2 separate regions of the Homo sapiens genome follow, and region 1 is linked to region 2. The links are contacts of gene promoters, found by promoter capture Hi-C in blood cells and fetal thymus (Javierre and others, 2016). All regions are on one chromosome and are shown on one strand. The core of a region is centred on a gene start or on the middle of the fragment in contact, and the rest is flanking DNA. Distances in the headings are between cores, read along the strand shown.

Region 1 (4,102 bases), core at 644-3,143, 140 kb before region 2:
TGAACATTTCCATCACTGGAGACTGGCCTGGCCTTCCGGACACAGCTACTGGACACTGAGGTTTCTTTTCTGCCCTAGTGGAGATGGACTCTGCTACTCATTTAAAAGCCAAGCACCATAGGAGGACAAGTCATTCTCTTGGAAGAACTGGTTTGATTAACTGCTGGCCATTGGTGGCAAAATAGAAACGACGTTTTTATTTCTCCCTCCCTCCCTCTCCTGAACATTTCAGAGTGACCAGTGGTTGGACTCTTGGCGGCGCTTACCCTGAACCTGAGTGTTAGGGGAGAGGGAATCTGCCGTTGCGGTTTCTGGAGCTGCTCATAAGCAAGAATTCCCTATCCTGATCAAGGCTTTAAGCCTAAAAGAAAGCAGAAATAGGTATGGAATATTTCTGTGTGTGTGTGTGTGTGTGTGCACACGCTCGTGCATGTGTGTATGCATGTGTGCCTGTGTGCATGCTGGGTGGGGTGGGTGTGACGTGGGAGGGGGTGGTATACTTTTCAGGGTCCAGGGCAGCTCAGTGTCTGCATTTCCCTGCCTTACAGGGAGGGTTTGTAAATCACTTTTGCTTTAACACCATACTTGTTCCTGTTTCCAGTTTGTGAGCAGGGAAAAGTAATTTGGTAGTCATCTCTCTAGTTTTGGGCACCAAAAAGGATTTATATATTATGCTTGTCAGCCTATCAGAATATCCCAATTTGACAGTTCAAGTACAGGAGTCCTGGAGGCACATTGGGAGGAATGGAAAAGGGACTGGGTTGCTTAACCCACTGGTGTGCACTTCCCAAGAGAATATGATGAGAGGGACTTTGGAGGGTCCCTTCGTGTTGTCAGACTGCCCAGCGCAACAGTTGGAAGCCAGGTAGCAGTAACCAACAAGACGTGAAGAAAGAGAGAAGATGAACTTTCTTCATATACTATATGTACATTCTGGGTCACTCTCTCTCTGCATGACCAAAAGAAAGGGGTTCGTGTTTCCAGAGAGATTGCAGGCCACTTAATATCATAGAAATAAGAGCCTGGGAGCCAGGGATCCAGAGTTGCCATCTAGAAACCTGATGCTGGTTAAACTGACCTTTATTGTGACTTTTCGTGTGACATTATGTTCATTCTCCACCAATTACTGAAGATCCTTAGAGTGAAAGTTTCATTATTGAACATTATTACTTAATTCCAATACTTAACATTGACAGATTCTGCCCAAAGAATTTTTGAATCTCTAATGAATTAGTGTGTACTATACAGTGCTGAGAGAGAGAAATCACCTACCAGCCATTTTTTGTTGAGAAAATAGACATCAAGAAAAGAGGAATCAGTTGTATACCCTGTAAACCAATAGTATGATTAGAATTTGAATATTAAATTGTGTTACTAAAATCAGTTTCAGTCAACCCATAGTACCTGTTCAGAAGAATTGATGGTGAGGGAGGGGATATGCTAATCGTATACCCTTTCCAGAAGGATGATCTTTATATTTTTCAATTTCTAAATTTTGTCAGAGGCACACTTCAAATAAAAGAGGCTTCCCCTTTAAGCTTCTACCCAATAACAATAACAGCAAATCTAAATGACTGTTTCTGGAGAGCTGAAAGGCAACTTTGTCAGTAATAAGTATTCCAAGTCCTTCTCTTATTAAGCCAAGGAGCATCCAAAATGGAGACTATGAAAATGATTTTTTAAAAAGATGTTTCAGAGCCTTATGAGATCAGAGAAAAAGATTTGCATCGAGGCAGGGATCATTACTGTCTGGTGCAAGCCAAGCTCTCTTCACCTTTTATTTATTTGAGTCTTTATTTTGCATTTTGTAGCTGCCTTCATATGCTGAGCTGCTTTACAAATCCTGTTATGGGGTAACTTTCCCCACTGTCCTGCCCCCACCTCCACAGCCATAAGATTTGGGTTTTTGCTTTAAATAGAATACAGAGAGATGAAGCCTGTGAATATGGACCTTGAAAAGTTACCCCCTTTGATTACCCTAGTTGACTGTTCCAGGTTTCTCAAGCATTCTTAGGAGTTAAGTCCAGATTGAATATTTAACTCATGCTAAAAGTGAAAGAGAAAACCTAGAGCTCTTATGCCTCCATGTTCTTCATCATATCAGTGCTAGGGCCTGGAATCCCCAACAATCTATTAATTTTAGAGTCAATTCTCTACTTTGTTTCTGCAATCGAATCCTCACCCTCCAATATCCATTTTCTTTCCCTTTAGAGGACTGATTTATCCATCAACTGGGTGTTAAGCTTCCTGTTTCCCCTTCCCAGGTCAAGGGCAGCCCAGGTGCCCAATTTCTCTCTCTCTTCACAAGGCACCACCAGCAATAGAGATGAGAAATTCTGAAGAACAGCCAAGTGGAGGGACCACGGTATTGCAGCGTTTGCTACAAGAGCAGCTTCGCTATGGCAATCCTAGTGAGAATCGCAGCCTGCTTGCCATACACCAGCAAGCCACAGGGAATGGCCCTCCTTTCCCCAGTGGCAGTGGGAACCCGGGCCCTCAGAGTGATGTGTTGAGTCCCCAAGACCACCACCAACAGCTTGTGGCTCATGCTGCTCGACAAGAACCCCAGGGGCAGGAAATCCAGTCAGAAAACCTCATCATGGAGAAGCAGCTGTCTCCTCGAATGCAAAATAATGAAGAACTCCCGACCTATGAAGAAGCCAAGGTCCAGTCCCAGTACTTTCGGGGCCAACAGCATGCCAGTGTTGGAGCTGCCTTCTATGTCACTGGAGTCACCAACCAGAAGATGAGGACTGAGGGACGCCCATCAGTTCAGCGGCTCAATCCTGGAAAGATGCACCAAGATGAGGGACTCAGAGACCTTAAGCAAGGGCATGTCCGTTCCTTGAGTGAACGACTAATGCAGATGTCACTGGCCACCAGTGGAGTTAAGGCCCATCCACCTGTTACCAGTGCTCCCCTCTCCCCACCACAACCCAATGACCTCTACAAGAATCCCACAAGTTCCAGTGAATTCTACAAGGCCCAAGGGCCACTTCCTAACCAGCATAGCCTGAAGGGCATGGAACACCGAGGCCCCCCACCAGAATATCCCTTCAAGGGCATGCCACCCCAATCTGTAGTGTGCAAGCCCCAAGAGCCAGGGCACTTCTATAGTGAGCATCGCCTGAACCAGCCAGGGAGAACAGAGGGGCAACTGATGAGGTATCAGCATCCCCCTGAGTATGGAGCAGCCAGGTAAGAGAGTTCTGTTTCTGTCATTTCCTGACCTCATCCCCAACCAGCTTCTGCTGTGTGTTGGGAATCTTAGGGAAGGAACGGGCAGGTGTTTGATATAACAAACTCTGCAATGCATGACAGGCCTCTGGCTTCGTGAATTGCCTGCCAACCCGAATTTGTATCCTCTTTAGCCATAATTAGCACTGTATTAACAATCCCTTAGCTTTGTAGGTTGAGCATGGCCTCAACTGCCTAGTGGACGAACAGGAGCAAAAGTCTTGTTTTCAGCAGCTATTTGCTGTCCTCTCTCCTAGGATGTTGAAGGGGTCTGTGTTTCTCATAAGCCCTCCTTGAGAGGTAGAAGCAAATTACCTTGCACTTTAATTAGTCTGGAACATCCTATCACTTGCACATATTCCCCTCCATGAAGCTTTCATCATTTATTTTTGCAAACAAATCTGTGTATTTCTTGTCAGTTACCATTTTTCCATAGAATTACCATTATTCTTTTGGACTAAACAAACACCCAGATGTTATGGTGGGGGAGCTATGTATGTATGTAGGTTCAGAATGTTACTTGCCTTATGCTTGCAGTTTATGAAATCTGGACTGTTGTATCTTTTTTTTGTAGAGAATTTATTAGTTGCCTGTCACATTTTTAAACCTCTGAGTTAAATTCCCATCACATCATATAGAAATTTTGGTCAGATGCTAAAATACAGAAGGAAAAATATTACCATTTCTGTCTTATATATTTAGTTGTTCCTATATATACTTCTTAATTATTCAGAGGTCCATTGTCCCACTGCTATATTCACTAGACCTTATGATTCTATGATTCTGTTCATTGTTCCTGTTGTTAGTATTTGGGCCATGTCTCTGATCAGTAGTATTTCCACATATAGGGCAGGAGAAAAGGTTT
Region 2 (3,707 bases), core at 943-3,442:
TGAAAGCAGCCATAGATGATACATAAGTGAATAAACAGTGGGAGTGTGCCAATAAAACTTTACAAAAACAGACAGCCTACTGGATTTGGCATGCACAGTCTCCGGCTTGCTGACCCCTTGTCTAGACTGCAAAATGCTGTGGGGGTGTTCATCTCATTTGGGAAATGCTATTGTATACAACAGTGTTTGGCAAATGAAGGATGGGGATGGGGGTATATATCAGAATCACCTGTTACCCATATCTTACCCTTGCAGAATCTCTTATTCCAGACTGATTGAAGGCAGGATTTAGGTATTCCCTAGTTTCCTTTCCAATACCCATTTTAGCACCATCCTGTCCCCTAAATACATTACAAGAAGTGTTCCTTTCTCAAGCCTTTCCACATAATCTTACGAAAGCAAGGCTGAAGAGCATTTTTAATTGAAAACATATCAAGAGCCACAAGATGCAAGCAATTTTTTTCTGAGAGAGCGTTCAACTGTTAAGAACAGGAAATAAAATTTTGTCCAATAAATTAGATTATTATTTATTATACACTTAAGTGTCTATAGAGAAAAGAGGATAAAAGAGGAAAGTAAAATGGTATTCTTCTTAGAGTTTCAAATAATGATAGGTTCCCCAAATGACAGGTGTAGTCACTAAGCAAAGGGCAATATTTACTGCTGTGCATAGAGTGGGGATCATCTATTTTTTATATGTCAACATTTTCAGCCGTATCTCACACAGTTACTACGTGTCAGTTAATATTAACCTATATTTAATGAAGGAGGGCCTAACATTTCTTTTTACATAATCCTATGTCTGAAGCAATGGTTCTTAAGGGAATGACAGCTGGGAGGTTATAAAACTTAGTTGGGGGGCTTACACTGCCAAAAGTCTAACATTCCACCTAAGGAGTCATCTGTGCTTCCCCCAGAAACATGATGGCCTCAGTAAGCCATGATTACAGATGGGAATGGATTTATCACTGTGTTGTAGAACAAAACGGTAAAAATTGCTGATGGAAAGTTGCTAGATAGACAAATACATGCATGAATATAGGATCATATCACTGATAAAAGGCAGGACACAGGTGGTATACACAGAAGGCAGGAGAAACTTTGTAAGTTCATTAAATAATCACGGTACAATTAATATGTTAATTTACGGTCATATTTTGAATTATTGCCACAACATGCTAGAAAATAGGCCTAATCACCTTTGTAGCATTCTGGTGAGGGAACTGGGCCATCAGAGAAGCATGGATACTTTGGATCAGTCCAGTGTGCTCTGTTAATGTAACCATTCTTCCTTCTAAATCATTTGGATTTGTTCAGCAAAGTTCCCCATTCACAGGCCATCTAGGAGGGGAAAAGAGACATGTACGAAAATAATAATAATAATAATGATACTAGGTAGAAGATAATAAGTTTCCCCAAATATGAAGTGTCAGGGACATTCACAGGTGGGAAATATGACATCGGGTTGGAGTAGAACATCAGGCAAAGCTCCATTCATCTCCAGACCACTCAGCTCTTTTCCCAAGCAGAGTAGCAGTTATTAGTGCACTGGGATAAATTAAACACTGACTTTTGATTGTATTATTACTATAAAAATATATTAGTTATTCCTTTCAATGTATGATTTCCACAAATTCTGAAATGTAAGCTCATTACATCTTGGAGCCAAAGATTGCTCTGCTGGAGCATCTTCCCCATCAGGCAATGGAAATCAGTTTGGGGAGAAGAGGTTGTTCTGTCTTATTCTATTTAGGCATGTGTTCTCTCAGTCACTTCTAGCCACATGGGTCTGCTACCTACCATGGTAGAGATTATCTAGGGCATTGGAGGAAAATTAGAGAAAATCTCTGTTCCTCAGCAGGCTTTTGGGCAGCAAGTGAGGAAGTAAGATAACGCAGTTCAAGCGCGGGCATGCCTGCGCGCATGCGCGCGCGCTCGCGCGGACACACATACACACACACGCGCGCGCGCGCGCGCGCGCGCACACACACACACACACACACAGAGCTGCTTTGTCCGCTGTGAGGTTGGAGGTTTGGGGACTCTGTGCCCACTAAGCTACTTTCTATTTCAAGTGCCTGTATGTCTGAGGCTGGGTTTGAAGCCTCCAGCGTGTTTGGAGTTAATCCCCATTAGGTTGGACTCCGCCCCTTTCTCCCAAAGGTAAAGCAAGGTTTTCAGGCATCACTGCAAAGGGCAGCTAGTATTCCCATCCTTGTCTAACAAGCTGTAAGGAGAAGTTGTTTCTGAGATCTGAGCCTGAAGAGAGGGAACAAGTCAGTCAGCCTTCGTGGTCAGAAGGTAAATATGCAACTTGGGCCAAATGCAATTCAAACAGCTGGATAAGAAACTGCTTTGCTCTCCCCTTGCTCAGCCCCCCCTTCTCCCCTTCCTTTCTCAGGTTTCCTGTCCTTTCATCTCAAAGCTCAGAGAAGCCGTTTTCTACCCGAGGGCAGCCTGGTGCTTTTTTATTTCTTCATAGTCCGTTGTTTGCACAGAGGCTAAGATGAATCAGGGCTGGATTCCTATTTCATATTGACAAGATTTGAGGACCTAAGGGTTAAGTGCTAGTTGGTTTCCCCAGGGGAGTTGGTAACCTGAGGAGATGAAGTGCCTGTTTCTGGGAGTGGAGAGAGTGATTTTGTTATGACCTGTCTATACAAGTAAAAATGGATCCGGTTTGCTAATGTGGTAGGTTGATCTCCTGGATTTGCCTAAATCTAAGGGGTTATGCGACGGAAATGGGGTAATGAAGTTAAACTGAAATGCAAATATTGAGGCCTCTCAGGCTGGAAATAAAAGAATGCATCCATTTGGTAAATATTTATGAGTTCCTACTATGTGCCAAGGCATGACAATTTCCAGAAGAACCTGAAATACTTAAACTATAAATCCATTCTTGCAAAGAACACTTGGCCAAGTGGTTTCATTTTGTGGTGGGGAACTGAAAATAGAATGAAGCCTAGGGGTGAGGAAAAATCACCCATGGAGTGGTTGTGGGGAGAGAAAGGGGAAAGGAGAGATGTTCTAAATCTTAGGTGGTTTCAAGTCTTTTCCATTACTTATGAGAGAATAGGGTCTTTTCTGGTAGAAAGGGAGAGAATTGATACCTACTCTGGTGTTAGGTATAGTGCAGATGTTTCACTTGAATTTTATGCTTAATCATTTCCATTTTATAAATGAAACCAAAACTCAGAGGTTTTAAGTGATCTTTTTATGTGCATATAGCCTGTAAGGGGCAGACCTCAGGACTCTGTCTCTGATCTGATTCCAAAATTGTGACTTTTCCACTAAAACAGTATTCCTCAATCATTAGTTCCCATTAGAATAAATTGAGGATTTTTAACAATATGAATTCCCATAAATTCGAATTCAGTGAATCAAGGAGGGGGTGACATAGTCTGCATTTTGAACAAGCATTGAAAGTGATTCTGAACAAGCATTGAAAGTGATTCTGTTGAGACAAACATTCTTGATATACCATGCTGCCTCTCAACTTCTCTGAAGTGATTGGAAAAGCAATCAGCCCATCTTCTTCCCATATGGGCCAGATTCACTCAATAGAAGTGGTCAGCTGTGGTGACATTTTATTCCCAGCTTATACAATGGAGTGGAGAGACTAATGGGCAACAATAACAGGGCTGGGGTTTAGGGCTTAACAATGTCTTGCCAGGGATCTTGATAGGGGTAGTTTCTAACCAGCTGAG

Evidence for each region. The method cuts DNA at HindIII sites, captures the fragments that hold promoters and counts their contacts. A CHiCAGO score of 5 or more calls a contact.
Region 1: a contact is called between a fragment that was not itself captured here and the fragment with the promoter of LHFPL1 in region 2, in 1 of 17 cell types (non-activated CD4 T cells). The highest score is 6.3, in non-activated CD4 T cells.

Annotation. Positions count from the first base shown.
Region 1 is chrX:112,821,351-112,825,452 of GRCh38, reverse strand. AMOT (angiomotin) reads left to right here. Exons shown (of 14, transcript NM_001113490.2): 3 at 233-381; 4 at 2,265-3,198. The coding sequence starts at 2,327. Among named protein-coding and RNA genes, the nearest start is that of AMOT, 17 kb to the left of the region's middle. The HindIII fragment of the contact is 705 bases long and covers 1,541-2,245 here.
Region 2 is chrX:112,678,423-112,682,129 of GRCh38, reverse strand. It overlaps LHFPL1 (LHFPL tetraspan subfamily member 1), which reads left to right and starts at 2,192. Exons shown (of 4, transcript NM_178175.4): 1 at 2,192-2,301. The HindIII fragment of the contact is 5,630 bases long and covers 1-3,707 here.